Linked DNA regions of Homo sapiens: region 1 is linked to region 2. The links are contacts of gene promoters, found by promoter capture Hi-C in blood cells and fetal thymus (Javierre and others, 2016). All regions are on one chromosome and are shown on one strand. Each heading gives the region's core, a stretch centred on a gene start or on the middle of the fragment in contact. The rest is flanking DNA. Distances are from core to core; before and after follow the strand shown. Region 1 overlaps LOC105370913 (a long non-coding RNA gene). Region 2 holds the start of CRABP1 (cellular retinoic acid binding protein 1).

What was found. Contacts are between HindIII fragments. The CHiCAGO score rates a contact against its expected background, and 5 or more counts as called.
Region 1: a fragment that was not itself captured here is called in contact with the fragment with the promoter of CRABP1 in region 2 in 1 of 17 cell types (erythroblasts); the score reaches 6.6 in erythroblasts.

What each region holds. Positions count from the first base shown.
Region 1 is chr15:78,685,673-78,692,855 of GRCh38, forward strand. LOC105370913 (a long non-coding RNA gene) reads right to left here. Exons shown (of 3, transcript XR_932509.2): 3 at 6,904-7,183. Among named protein-coding and RNA genes, the nearest start is that of CHRNB4, 48 kb to the left of the region's middle. The HindIII fragment of the contact is 1,109 bases long and covers 5,336-6,444 here.
Region 2 is chr15:78,339,051-78,345,517 of GRCh38, forward strand. CRABP1 (cellular retinoic acid binding protein 1) reads left to right here and starts at 1,303. Exons shown (of 4, transcript NM_004378.3): 1 at 1,303-1,448; 2 at 1,993-2,171; 3 at 4,449-4,562. The coding sequence starts at 1,379. RefSeq lists an enhancer at 853-1,481. The HindIII fragment of the contact is 12,559 bases long and covers 1-6,467 here.

The sequences.
Region 1 (7,183 bases), core at 4,640-7,139, 350 kb after region 2:
TGGGGCCTGACCCACAAGTGACCCCATCAGGCTGTTCCGGCCCTTTTCTGGCCTAGTCTCTGGCTGGGAATGGATGGCTTCTTTATGACCCTGAGGAGGTATGGCCAACAGGAAGCACAGTCGCTCTCTTCTGAGCTCATTTTTCACCCTGGCTGGTTTTGCTGGAGATGCAACCAAAGCTAAATCTCAATTTTGGGGGCAGGAGGAGCCGTCGGTGGAGTCATCTGCACCTGGGCTGTTAGATAAAACCTCCATGCAGCCTCTAGAAGCCAAACTCAAGATTTAAAGGGGAAGAGCTTTATTTTGTTGACAATTGCTTTACAATTCACTTAGTAACACGCCACGTCTTCGTACAGAGGTATGCACTTTCACACTGCTGCTCCATCCGATCCTAGTTACATCCCTAAAAGGGGACAGGCATGTGTCAGGATCCTCTTTTCACTCTGAGGATACTGAAGCCCAGAGAGGTCAAGCCAGTTGCCCTACTTTGCACAGCTGTTCAATGGTCAAGTCAGTGGTTTTAGCCTCTGACAATCCAGCGGCCTTTCTATTACACCGCACTGCCTTTCATGCAGATTTAGAGGGAAACAGAAAGAATCTGTGCTCCAGTGCACCGTCTCCCCGTAGGACTGTGAGCTGCTCAAGGCAGGGTGGTAATGGAGTCACATCTGGGCAGCATGACGTGGAGCACCACTGATATTTGGGAGTCCATTTGGGACTGGATAATTTTTTGTTTTACAGACATTTAAACGAGTCTGCCTTTAGCATTCCTGGACCCTGGTCACTAAACCCCAACAGTGCCTCCTCATTCTTATAAAACCCTCCTCCCCACAAAAAAAAAAGCCCCAGACATTTCCAAATCTCCCAGGGTGGAGGGAACAGAGTGGAGTAGAAGTGGGCAGTACCACCCTTGGTTGAGAACCCAGTCTTTGGAATAAGATGGCTGAGGTTTCAAACCTTGTCTCTGCTCTCCCTAGCAGGGTGACCTCGGAGGTCTGGCTTCCTGATTCAGAACATTTACCCCAGAGAGTAATCAGGAAGATGAAACGAGCTAATGGACCCAAAGCACGAAGCTCCATGCCAACATGAGATGTTTTGATCAAGTAACTAATAAAAATAACAAATGAAATCCTGTCGCATTAAGAGTTGGCCCTAGTATGTTTACAGTAGGTGTTCCATAAATGTGGCTTTCTTCTTCTGCATTCTCAGCATCTACCTCAACAACCACATCAACAAAAACAAACATTTATTGGCTTACTTTTTATACATAAAGCATTTAGCAAAGAATTTGACACATTGCCCCATTTATTCCCACAACAGCCCTATGAGGTAGTTATATTATTGTCCCTATCTTACAAATGTGGGAACTGAGAGCAGAGATTGATTAACTGTAGCCTGTGGGCCAAATCCAGCCACTGCCCGTTGTTACTGGAACATAGCCTTGTTCATTCATTCATGTGTTGTCTATGGCTGCTGCCATTTACATTGAGTAGTTGCTTGCAGCAGAAACCATATATGGCCTGCATAGCCTAAAATATTCAGTGTCTAACCCTTTATAGGAAGAGTTTACTGACTTCTACTCTAGAAGGTTAATTTATAAGGTGACAAAACTAGTTATGGTGGAGGCATGAGTCCAACTCCGTTCAGTTTGATTCCAAAGCTCAGGCTCTTGGTTGTCACATACTCCCACTGGAGGCGGTGGATTTTCATTAAGTGGTCGTTAGACACTGAAATCGTAAAACATTTATTTTAAAATAGATTATGTTATATATTTGGTTTTTATTGTGGTAAAATGTCTGTAATGTAAAACATACCATTTAACCATTTTTAAGTGTACAGTTCACTGCCATTAAGTGCATTCACAATGCTGTACAACCATCACCATTATCCATTTCCAGAACTTTTTCATCATTCCAGACAGAAACGCTGTAGCCATTCCACAGTAACTCCCCATTCCCTCTCCCCCAGCCCCTAATAATCACTATTCTACTTTTGTCTCTGTGAATTTGCCTATTTTAGGTACCTAATGTAAGTGGACTCATAAAGATTTGTCTTTTTGTCTCTTATTCCATTTAGCATGTTTTCCAGGTTCATCTATGTTGTAAGATGTATCAGAATTTTATTCCTTTTTAAGGCAGAATAATGTCCCATTGTGTGTAGTGTCAGATGTTCCTCCATTTACTGTGGAGTTACTTCCCAATAAACCCACTGTAAAAGAAAAATATTGTAAGTCACAAATGCAATTAATACACCCAACTTACTGAACCTCATAGCTTAGCCCAGCCCACATTAAACATGGTCAGAACACTTACATTAGCCTACAGCTGGGCAATATCATCTAACACGAAGCCTATATTATAATCAGATGTTGACTATCTCATGTAATTTATTGAATACTGAAAGTGAAAATCAGAATGGTTATATGTGTACTTGAAGTACAGTTCCTGTTGAATGTGTATCACTTTTGCACCATTGTAAAGTCAAAAAATATTAATTCAAACCATTGTGGGGCAGGGCATGTTGGCTCACGCCTGTAATCCCAGCACTTTGGGAAGCCAAGGCAGGTGAGTCACCTGAGGTCAGGAGTTCAAGACCAGCCTGACCAATGTGGTGAAACCCCGTCTCTACTAAATACAAAAAATTAGCCATGGGTGGTGGTACATGCCTATAATCCCAGCTACTTGGGAGGCTGAGGCAGGAGAATCACTTGAACCTGAGAGGCAGAGATTGCATTGAGCCAAGATTGTGCCATTTACTCCAGCCTGAGCAACAAGAGCAAAACTTCATCTCAAAAAAAAAAAAAAAAAATACAACATCATAAGCTGGGGACCATCTGTGTTTGTTTTTGAATAGATAGTACATGCATAGAGTACAAAATTCAAAAGATGCAAAGGACCTAGAGTGAAGAGTGAATCTCTCTCCTATCCCTTCCCCCTCCAGGCCCCAGCTCCCCTCCCAAGAGACAACCAGTGTTACTGCATTCTTGTGTATCTTTTCTGAGAGGGTCTAAGCATGCTCAGCATCTAGGTTTCAATAGTATTTTTAAATATATTTTCACACAAGTATTACTACACCTGGCATATTGTTCCTGCATCTTTCTGATAACCTTTTTCTTTCTTGAGACAGGGTTTTGCTCTGTCACCAAGGCTGCAGTGTAGTGACACAATCATAGCTCACTGCAGCCTCGACCTCACCTACTCAAGCAATCCTCCCACCTCAGCCTCCCAAGTAGCTGAGAACACAAGTGTGTGCCATCACACCCGACTAATTTTTTTGCTTTTGTAGAGATGTGGTCTCACTATGTTGCCCAGGCTGGTCTCAAACTCCTGAGCTCAAGCCATCCTTCTGCCTGAGCTTCCCAAAGTGCTGGGATTGCAGGTGTGAGCCACTGTGCCTGGTGGCTCACACATTAAGTATTCTTAATAATATGTCTTGCAGATTGTTTTGTATCATTATATCTAGAGCTATCTCACTCAACAACTGCATATAATCCCACTGCATGAATGTATCATGATTTATTTATCTGGTCATTATAAGTAGACATTTAGGTTGTTTTTAATCTTTTTCAGTTATGAACAGCTCTATAGTGAATGTTCTTTTCATTTTTTGTTGTTTTTGAGATGGAGTTTCACTCTGTCGCCCAGGCTGGGGTGCAGTGGCATGATCTCAGCTTGCTGCAACTTTTGCCTCCTGGGTTCAAGCGATTCTCCTGCCTCAGCCTCCTGAGTTGCTGGGACTACAGGTGCGTGCCACCACTCCCAGCTAATTTTTTATTTTTAGTAGAGACGGGGTTTCACCATGTTGGCCAGGCTGGTCTCGAACTCCTGACCTCAGGTCATCTGCCCACCTTAGCCTCCCAAAGTGCTGGGATTACAGGTGTGAGCCACTGCGCCTGGCCTCTTGTCATGTTTTTAAGATTAGTTCTTAAAGCCAGTGTAGTAGAAGATGAAGCATGTTTCTCACCCTCTCCATGTTGGACTGCATTTTTCAGGGAAATTGTGCTATCTGGAGAACCATATTTGGCTCAGAGGATCAGGAGTGCTTGGATCCTACCCTGGTCTAACTCCTCCCTTCCCCACATCTGGGCCAATGAGAGATGGAGGAAAAAAAGCAAGGAACAACTCATTCTTGGGCTGAAAGCCTAAGGATGTGGTCATTGGAGGACAAAAAGCAAGGAACAACTCATTCTTAGAGGGGCTGAAAGCCTAAGGCCATGCTCATTGGAGGACAACCCTTCCTCTAACCCAGAGTTTCTCTTTGACTTTTTTCTTTTCTTTTTTTTTTTTTGAGACTTAAGTCTTGCTTTGTCACCCAGGCTGGAGTGCAAGGGTGCAATCTCAGCTCACTGCAATCTCCGGCTCTCGGGTTCAAGTGATTCTTGTACCTCAGCCTCCTAGGTAGCTGGGACTATGGGCACCTGCCACCACACTTGGCTAATTTTTGTATTTTTGGTAGAGATGGGGTTTTACCATGTTGGCCAGGCTGGTCTCAAACTCTTGACCTCAGGTGATTTGCCTGCCTCAGCCTCCCAAAGTGCTGGGATTACAGGCATGAGCCACCGCACCTGGCCTCTCTGACATTTTGGACTAGATAGACCTTTTTTCTATCTAGTTCTTTACCTCAATGTAGAGGTCACAATGTCAGGCTAAGGCTTTCTAATAAAGCTTCTGGTTGTCATGTAGTGGGAGAGAGGAGAGCTGAAATCAGTATTGTGAGATATGGCTGAAATGTCTGCTGTAGCTCCAGGTGAGAGAGGCCCAAGACCTAGCATGGGAACAAAACCTCCCAAGATCTGGCAAGCCAAGCAAGTTTCTGCTTTCTTGATGTTCCTCTCTGATGCATAAAGATCACAGCTTTTGCCAGCCAAGGTGGCTCATGCCTGTAATCCCAGTACTTTGGGAGGCTGGGGCAGGAGGATTGCTTGAGCCCAGGAGTTTTGGACCAACCTGGGCAACATGGCTAGACCCCATCTCTACAGTAAAAAAATACAAAAATTAGCCAGGCATGATGGCGTGCACCTATAGTCCCAGCTACTCGGGAGGGTGAGGTGGGAGGATTGCTTGATCCTGGGAGGCAGAAGTTGCGGTGAGCTGAGATCACACCACTGCACTCCAGCCTGGGAGACAAAGTGAGACCCTGTCTCAACAAAACAAAAGAAAACACCTTTGAAAAGAGATGGGGTAAAAAAGATCACAGAACAAAGAGTTAAAAAAAAAAAACAGATTGTTCTTTAATTAAGAACAACTAGGGCTGGGCAGAATTGAAGCTGTTTCCCCTGCCAGATGATTGGACACCTTGCCTTTTAGGAGCAGGGTCTGGATGGGAGTGGGGGAAAAGCTTCCTTCAAAACCAACTTTCAGAGAGTTGGATGCTTTTTGGAGAGGACTGAATTTGGATTAGGCATTCATATTTATTTCTGCCCTTTGCAGTCATGTCATGCAAGCTAAATCGTTTCTTAAAACCAGTATTTCCACCCCTTCCAAAAGGAACTTTATCATGTAAACTGAGCGCCTGCAATCCAACCCTATAATGACTTGATTCGTCCTGGGAAAGCTCCTGCCTTTAATCCTTTTCTCCCTCATCTCCTGGTGCCAGGAAGGGCCCCCACAGGACCCTCCCAGGTCTGGAGGTGTTCCTCACTGTCACTCTCTCCTCCTCACATCACCTGCTGGCCCCGAGGCCTTCTCAGTGATGGGGAGGGTTTGGCTAGAGCCTTAGCGGGAGGAAGCCAGGAGATGCTTCCCTAGGTCAATCCCTGGGCAGGCCCCACTTCCTTCATTTCCTCATTCGTTCATCCAGTTAACACATGCTTAGTGCTTCTCATATGCCAAGCACTGTGCTCTGCACTTCACTCTGTGAGCTCTGATAATAGGGACTAGTATTAGTTTTCATTTATGGATGAGGAAATCAAGGCTCAGAGGGGTTAAGTCACTTGCCTGAGACCACATGGTTAATGAGTGGCTTTGCTGTACTGGGGACCTAGAGTCTGAATCCAGCCAAGCGACTTCCAATGCCAAGCTCACACCAGATCCACACTCGGAGCAGAGGAAGCCACATTGCAGCGGAAAACAAGGGCTTCCTGGAAGTGGTATGTGGCCTGAGGCCAGGAAAGACCAGGCTGGGAGAGGGCTACTGACTGCTTACTGTAATCAGCTTCAGATTTTCGGCATCAACAAGGCAGAACCCCAGTGAGACAGGCCAGGGTGACAGGAGGCTCTTTGGTGACCCTGGATGGGCTCTGCTCATGGGGATTTGATCCCACCATTAGTTTTTGAGCTCTTGCCACATGCCAGACACAGGCCCTGCCCCAGGAATCCCACATATTATCATGTGCCATGGCCTGGGTCTCGGCTATGGCTTCAGTGGCTCATGTTCCCCTCTTCCTGGACACCCATCTTGGACGATCCTACAGCCTCAGGCCAAGGCATCCCCAGAATCCCCCCAAGCTTCTGGGCCCCTGCCTGGCAAGACTGATGCTGATCAGAGTCCTGCCCCATCCCCCTGCTCCCAGTCCAGGCCAGGGATGGCTTCTATTTACCTGGGTCTTCCCCGAGCTCAGCTGAGCTCCAGCTCATAGTGAATCACATGTTGGGAATCAGCTGAGAGCTGGCCCTGAAGATCCCTGAATAATGCATCAAAGCCCTTCTCCCCTGCAGAGCCATTAGGGTGGGGGTGAGGGGGATAATGCAGAGGAGTCAGTGTGTTTCCCACCCCAGGAAGAATACTAGGGTTCCAAAGGCCTTTGCCCTGGTGTGCATGGGCTTGAGACTCAAAGGTCCACAGGACTGGGTGACCCAGTACATAGGTAAACCAAGGCGGGTTTCGGATGACTACAAAACCAGTACATCCTCCAAAAGAGGGCAAAGGAGGTTCAGCTTCCAAATATTCAGACTTTTGCCATTGGAAACTTTAAGAAAACAAAACAACATTTTATTTTTAGCATCCATATAAAAGTTGTATTGCATGGTTTATGGTTTTGTTTTTATTTTGAATTTTCTCCCCTGTGCAGAAGCACCAAAGCATCTTCAGTGCTAAGACCTGGAAAAGTCGAAGTCCCTCCTGGAGATCCAGTCACACCACAGGAGAGCAGAGCTGGGGGTGCCTGCTGAGTTCACTCCATCCACCCCACCCCACTCCCAGAACCGTACAGGCTGAGCAGTCCAGGCCAATTCAGGTACCCTCT
Region 2 (6,467 bases), core at 53-2,552:
CCACTCACATCCTCCTCAAATCAATGCACAGTTATCGAGCCCCACCTGGCTAAGCCTTAGGAAGGGAGGACAAGTGGATAAACGATCACTGCCCTCCAGGAGTTCAGTTTATAGCAGAGCGAAGACTTGAACAAGAGCAGGACCGGACAAGAATCCTGTCAATTCAGAGAAAAATAATCACAGTTTATTAGGAAACTGAATTTCACAAAAGAGAGAGCATAAAGATGGGCTTTCGTGAATGGGCAAGATTTGATTAACCCGATGAGGAAAGGGGCATTCAAGGAAGAAGCCATGGCATGGGCAAAAACTTAGAGATAATAAAATGCATGGCACGTTCTAGAATCCTGAATTGTACAGTTTGGCTGAGGTGTGCAGATGGTAAAATAGTGGGAAAAAGCTGGAAGGAAAATGTACAGAGAAGAGCTACAAGGGTAATAGTGAAGTGTTTGTACTCCCTTAGTGGAAACACCGAGGGGACTTTAGGTCGTGATGTTTAGGTTATTTGGGAGCAAAGGGAGAAGACTTCCTCCCCTTGGCCCTCACAGCCTGCCCGAAGAGTGCAAAGCCTCACGCTTTTGCAAAACAGGCCGCACCTAGCCCAGATTCTGGAGCTGATTCAGTCCATGCCTCTCGACCCACAGTTTGTCCTGAGCCCTGACAAAGGTCTGGCCCCCTCCTGCACTCGGAACGCGGAGGACCCGCAGCTCGTGGATTCGCGCCTCAGTGCCCAAGCTGGTGTTGATGGGGGTTGCGGTTTCCTGCCACTCACTCCCCATGGGTCCTGTGGGGGGCGTGGGGATGCGGGGAGAGGGTTTCAGAATAGGATCCCGGACTGGGAGGGAAGGGACACCATCTGGGCACACCCAGTAGGTACGACCGGAGGTGAAAAAAGAGTGGGTCCCATCCCCTGATGGCCCCGCTCGCTATCCACTTTAAGTTTATGTTATGGATATTTTCAAACATATTCAAAAGTAGAGAGAAAAGTAGAATCATAACCCAAGTCCACACCGCCCAGCTTCAACAGTTATCCCCTCCAAGCCCATCTTGTTTCAGCTAACCCTCTCCCACCACCCATTTTAAAGCGGGATGTGGGTGTCCTGAGGGAGGTGGAGGCTCCCCAGTTGGAGAGCGGGTGCCCGCACCTCTGGAGGCTGAGGCACAACTGGGCTGGGAGTTGAGCGCATACCGAGTAGGGGCTGCGGGGGAGCGGGGGCAGGGCCGGCGGGGCGGGGCCAGAAGCCCGGCGGGGTTGGGGGCGCTCTCCTAGTGACTCAAGGCGCGCAGCGCTGGGCGCAAAGCGCCAGTCTCCGCCTTGCGAGCTCAGAGTGTGCCCGCTGCGCCGCCGCTGTCCGTACCTGCCGCCGCCGCCACCGCCACCATGCCCAACTTCGCCGGCACCTGGAAGATGCGCAGCAGCGAGAATTTCGACGAGCTGCTCAAGGCACTGGGTAAGCTGGTGCAGAGGGCGCGCCCCGACGGGGAGATGCGGCCCGGAGGTGCCCTGGTCCCGGAAGTGCCCCGGTCCTGGAGGGGGTGGAAGTTGGGGAGCCCAGGCAGGAGGGAGTCCCCGGGGCAATAGATCGCCTTGTCTCCCAGGCGCACCGGGTCTCGGAGAAGCTGGTAGAGATCCCGGAACCCACGCGTTCAGCGAACGTTTGCTGAATGTTTGGCGCCCTCCTCGATGGTGCGGACTTTATCTCGTGCTAGATCATAGCGAGGAGAGATTACTGGAGAGCAAGGAGGATCAGGGACTTAAATTTGGAGACTCAAATTTGGGACCAGGCTCTGCCACGAATTCACTGTGCAACTCGAGGAAAGTCACTTACCCTCTCTGTGCCTCAGTCTCTCATCTCGAAAACAAGGGCGAGGGCAGGGAAACGAGTGGATCAATTTTAAGGCCCCTTTCTAAAGTTAGGGTATGACCAGTGCCCGACCGGTCCCGAGACTGGCGGCGAGGCCCCGTGACCCAAGCCTGTGGTGCACCCTGCGCAGGTGTGAACGCCATGCTGAGGAAAGTGGCCGTAGCGGCTGCGTCCAAGCCGCACGTGGAGATCCGCCAGGACGGGGATCAGTTCTACATCAAGACATCCACCACGGTGCGCACCACTGAGATCAACTTCAAGGTCGGAGAAGGCTTTGAGGAGGAGACCGTGGACGGACGCAAGTGCAGGGTGAGGCCCCAGAGCCACTACAGCGTCCCCGTGTCCCCGCTCGGTGCCCATGGCCCACTGCTGCTGGAGGAACCTGTGTCTCCCTTTGCAGCCTGTGGCGCGCCTTCCTTGCAGGGTGTGTACACTGGCTGTTTGCAGAGGGGGTTTGTGCATCCTAGTTGCCCCTGGCTCAAGACAAAGTATTACCTTCATTCCATCTCAACCCCATCCCTACGCTGCCTCCCGGGGTGCTAACAGCCGCGCTTAAAGAGCGGGCTCTGGGTTGCGCCGCGTTCCCAGCAGTGGCTTTTGCAGCGGTTTGCAGCGCCAAGCGCAGGCGGCGCAGGAGGAGGAGGAGGTTGCAGGAGCCGCCAGGTTCTCTGTCGCAGGTGAAGCCGCAGCTCTTGCATTCCTTTCCCGCCGTATCCCCCGCGCCCGCCCGGGTCCCTGGGCCGCCTGGGTACGCTCTGGATACAGTTTTAGCAGTCCCGATGGCCCCGTCACCTCTCCCTTCCCGCCTTCGGCCTGGTTCCTTAAAGGAACGGCGGAGTCTTTCCAAAAGCAAGGCAGGTTCTGGCTGGGAAAATGGACTAGTTGCCCTCTCTTAGTCCTCAAGGGCAAGAGTTTTTTTTTATTTCTCCATGCATCGGCCCAGGGATGAACCGGTGGATTGAAGCAAGGGGTTGTACATTCGTTTTTTGCATGGGCAAAAATTGCATTTGGTTAACCAGATGGAAAAATAATCACCGGTGCTACCACTTATTTAAAAAGTGACAGAATGTCTCCCTCCCCTTCTCCAATTTTTTTTTTTTAAAGAAAAAAGTCGTAACATTCCAGAGAGTGGGAAATTGTTTCTTTCACCTTTCCTGAGCAGTGCCTGGTCTGATCTCGGAATGGGACTCTCTGAGCACCGGGCTTGGAAGGACAAAGAAACAAAGCCCCCCAGAAGCAGGCTGATCTAGGAGGCAATCTTTGGCTCCAGAATTGTCATAGCCTGGAAATGATCTCCACGCTTGGAGGGGGTGGGATCTGAAGCCTAAACTGCACTGCAGAAACAAAGAGCAGGACAGCATAGAGTGAAGGGCTGGGAGTCTAAGAGAGGAGGCTTGGCAATAGGCAGGGCTCAGTCTGGGGACATCCAATGTTGGCTACTGCCAGGAAGGGTAATTCTGATTTAAAAAAAAAAAATTAAAGGTTCACACAACAGCCGGGAGAGTGGGGCTTTATGCACCCCCCATCCCCCCACACCTTGCCTAATGAATGTGTCCCATGTGTTAGTTAAAAACTGATTATGTGCACATTCAGCTCTGGCCCACCCCCCAGCCCAGCTGTACCACACTTAGCTTTGTGCAGACACTGGGGAAAAACTTCAGGAAATCCCTCCTTTTGCCTCCCACCTCCAAAAGCATGAAGAGCCTTCAGATTGATTTGCTTTTTAAATTTTTTCTAAAGGGATGTAACCGGGAAAGTGGCAGCATTTTAACCCTCAGAGCCAAAGACACCGAGGTTTATCAGTGCAGGGGTGCACTAAATCTGATGAGGAGTGAACAGAAAGGACGTTCCTATCCCAAAATCCATGCAGGGAATCGTGCTCCTGATAGGCTGATGACAGATGTGGTTACAAACTTGGTGTCTTAACTGTTGTCAAATCTTGTGGTTCTGATGTGAAGGTTCTTGCTTTTAAAATCCAAATTATGTTCACCTGAGGTCAGGAGTTCGAGACCAGCCTGGTGAAACCCCATCTGTACTAAATATACCAAAAAAATTAGCTGGGCGTGGTGGCAGGCACCTGTCATCCCAGCTACTCAGGAGGCTGAGACAGGAGAATTGCTTGAACCTGGGAGGTGGAGGTTGTAAGGAGCCAAGATTGTGCCACTGCACTCCAGCCTGGGCAACAGAGCGAGACTCCATCTCAAAAAAAAAATGAATAAAAATAAATAAAATCCAAATTGTTTGAAGGGTTAGCTAATTTTTATATAAATGAATCATTTCATGCTCTAAATTTTATTCCTAGAGATGTAAAGCATGCCTAAGGCCTCGCTGCTTCAGTAAGAGATTGTTTGTGTGTGCTTGTGAGTGTGTGTGTGTGTTATACAAGGTGTATTTATACCCCATAAAATCTGTGACCAGCACTCTGAATTTGGACTTTATAAGGCTCAGCGGAGAAGAATCTGTGGCCTGCTGACAGGGACCATGTGTTGATTCTCTGCAGAGCAATTATTTTTCAATGCTCATTGTTGTCCCTGCTCCCGCTGCTGAGACTCTAATTAATGTCACTAATGGTTTTCCCGCCTGCAGAGTTTAGCCACTTGGGAGAATGAGAACAAGATCCACTGCACGCAAACTCTTCTTGAAGGGGACGGCCCCAAAACCTACTGGACCCGTGAGCTGGCCAACGATGAACTTATCCTGGTAGGGAACCCTTGACCCTGAAATAATCCTGAAGTTCCCCCAGAGGGGGCCCCAGATGGGCCCCACAAATATGTCCTCCTCACTCGGCCGTTCAGAGAAAGACACCATTTGCCCTGGATTAAAATTAGAGCAGAAAACCCGAGATGACAGTTCAGGTCAGAGGAAATCATTGTTAAATGGTTGGCAGGAAAGAGGAGTGGCTCAGAGGATGGAATAGGGGCTGGAGACAGGCTGGAGTGCCTGCCACTATCCACACTAATACATCCCAGTGGCGGTGACATGCTTTAAGCCAAGCTCCCCTCTCATCAGGCTTGGAATGCTTAGGCTCTATGAGGTCCCCACGCTCACATGGCAGAAGGGATTTTTTTTCATTCTCATTCCCCCTTTTGCTGGCTGGAAAAGGTTTCAGTAATTTTTATCACATCAGCACTCAGAACCTTAGAGAACATTTTTAGCTGTGATTTGCAAACTCCAATGGCCTTTGGGAGCCAGGCAATGAATGCTAATTTGGGAAGTGTCTGAGTATAACACAGTGTGGAGAGATGAGCCCCTGTAGAACTAAAAAAGATAGGCTTTTCCTTAAAAGTATTCAGATCCCAGCATTCTGGGGGGCCAAAGCGGGTGGATCACCTGAGGTTGCAAGTTTGAGACCAGCCTGATCAATATGGAGAAACCCCGTCTCTACTAAAAATACAAAATTAGCCGGGCGTGGTGGCATATGCCTGTAATCCCAGCTACTCGGGAAGCTGAGGCAGGAGATTCACTTGAACCCAGGAGGCGGAGGTTGCAGTGAGCTGAGATGGCACCACTGCACTCCAGCCTGGGCGACAGAGACTCTGTCTCTAAAAAAAAAAAAGTATTCAGACGAAAACATTTTAAACACCTGCTCCTAGCCAAACAAAACTTACCTAGTGAGGCCAAATTAGAAACCTCTATAATTTAAGCACACACTTCCTCCCCTTTTTTTAGGTAGAGAACAAAGGAAGGCTGAGGGCAGAACAATCCCCCTCGCTCTCCCTTTGTGTTACAAAACTGGGCTGGGATTGGTGGCTCACACCTGTAATCCCAGCACTTTGGGAGGCTGAGCCCAGGAGTTTGAGAACAGCCTGGGCAACATAGTGAGACCCCTATCTCTACAAAAAAAAAAAAAAAAAATTAGCTGAGTGTGGTGGCACATGCTTGTAGTCTCAGCTACTCGGAGGCTGAAGTGGGAGGATCACTTGAGCCCAGGAGTTTGAGGCTGCAGTGAACTGTGATCATGCCACTGCACTCTAGCCTGGGCAACAGAGCTGAGACCCTGTCTCAAAATTAAAAACAAAAAAAAAAACAAAAAAACTAATTAAGGGTTTTGCAACCACCCTTTTCTTCCAGACCAGAAAAGGGAAAGCTGTTTTGGGTAACCAGGAAATTATATCCTTTGTTCTCCATTAGGTATTTTGTTAATCTCTGCTCCATCTTAGTGAATGTCACCTTGAAATGTTGTGAATAGGAGACTGCCTGCTGAAGGGTGCTAGGAAAGGACTTGCAGTGTGACCTGAGCATAGGCCTTCCCTTCCCAAGCTCTTCCCCTTGCTATACAATGAGGGGTTAAGCTGAAGTCTGATCCCTGAGGTCCCTCTCAGCCTTGAAATTACATGTTTATTCTGCAAGAAGACCCTAAATTGAGCTATTACTTGAAATGAGACTGCTTGATCTTTCTCTCTCTCCTCTTGTCCTTCCCTGGTATGATTTAACATGCTTTCTCCTTTCACAGAGAAAGGACTGGCTTAATTTGCAACCTGGTTAATATTGTTTCCAGGGAAAGGATACTTGCTGGGCTTGGGGGAGCAATTTGAGGCTGAGACATGGAAATTTAGGAGAAAAGGCGTATATGGTTTACTGGTACCAGAGACAGCAGAGGGAGAT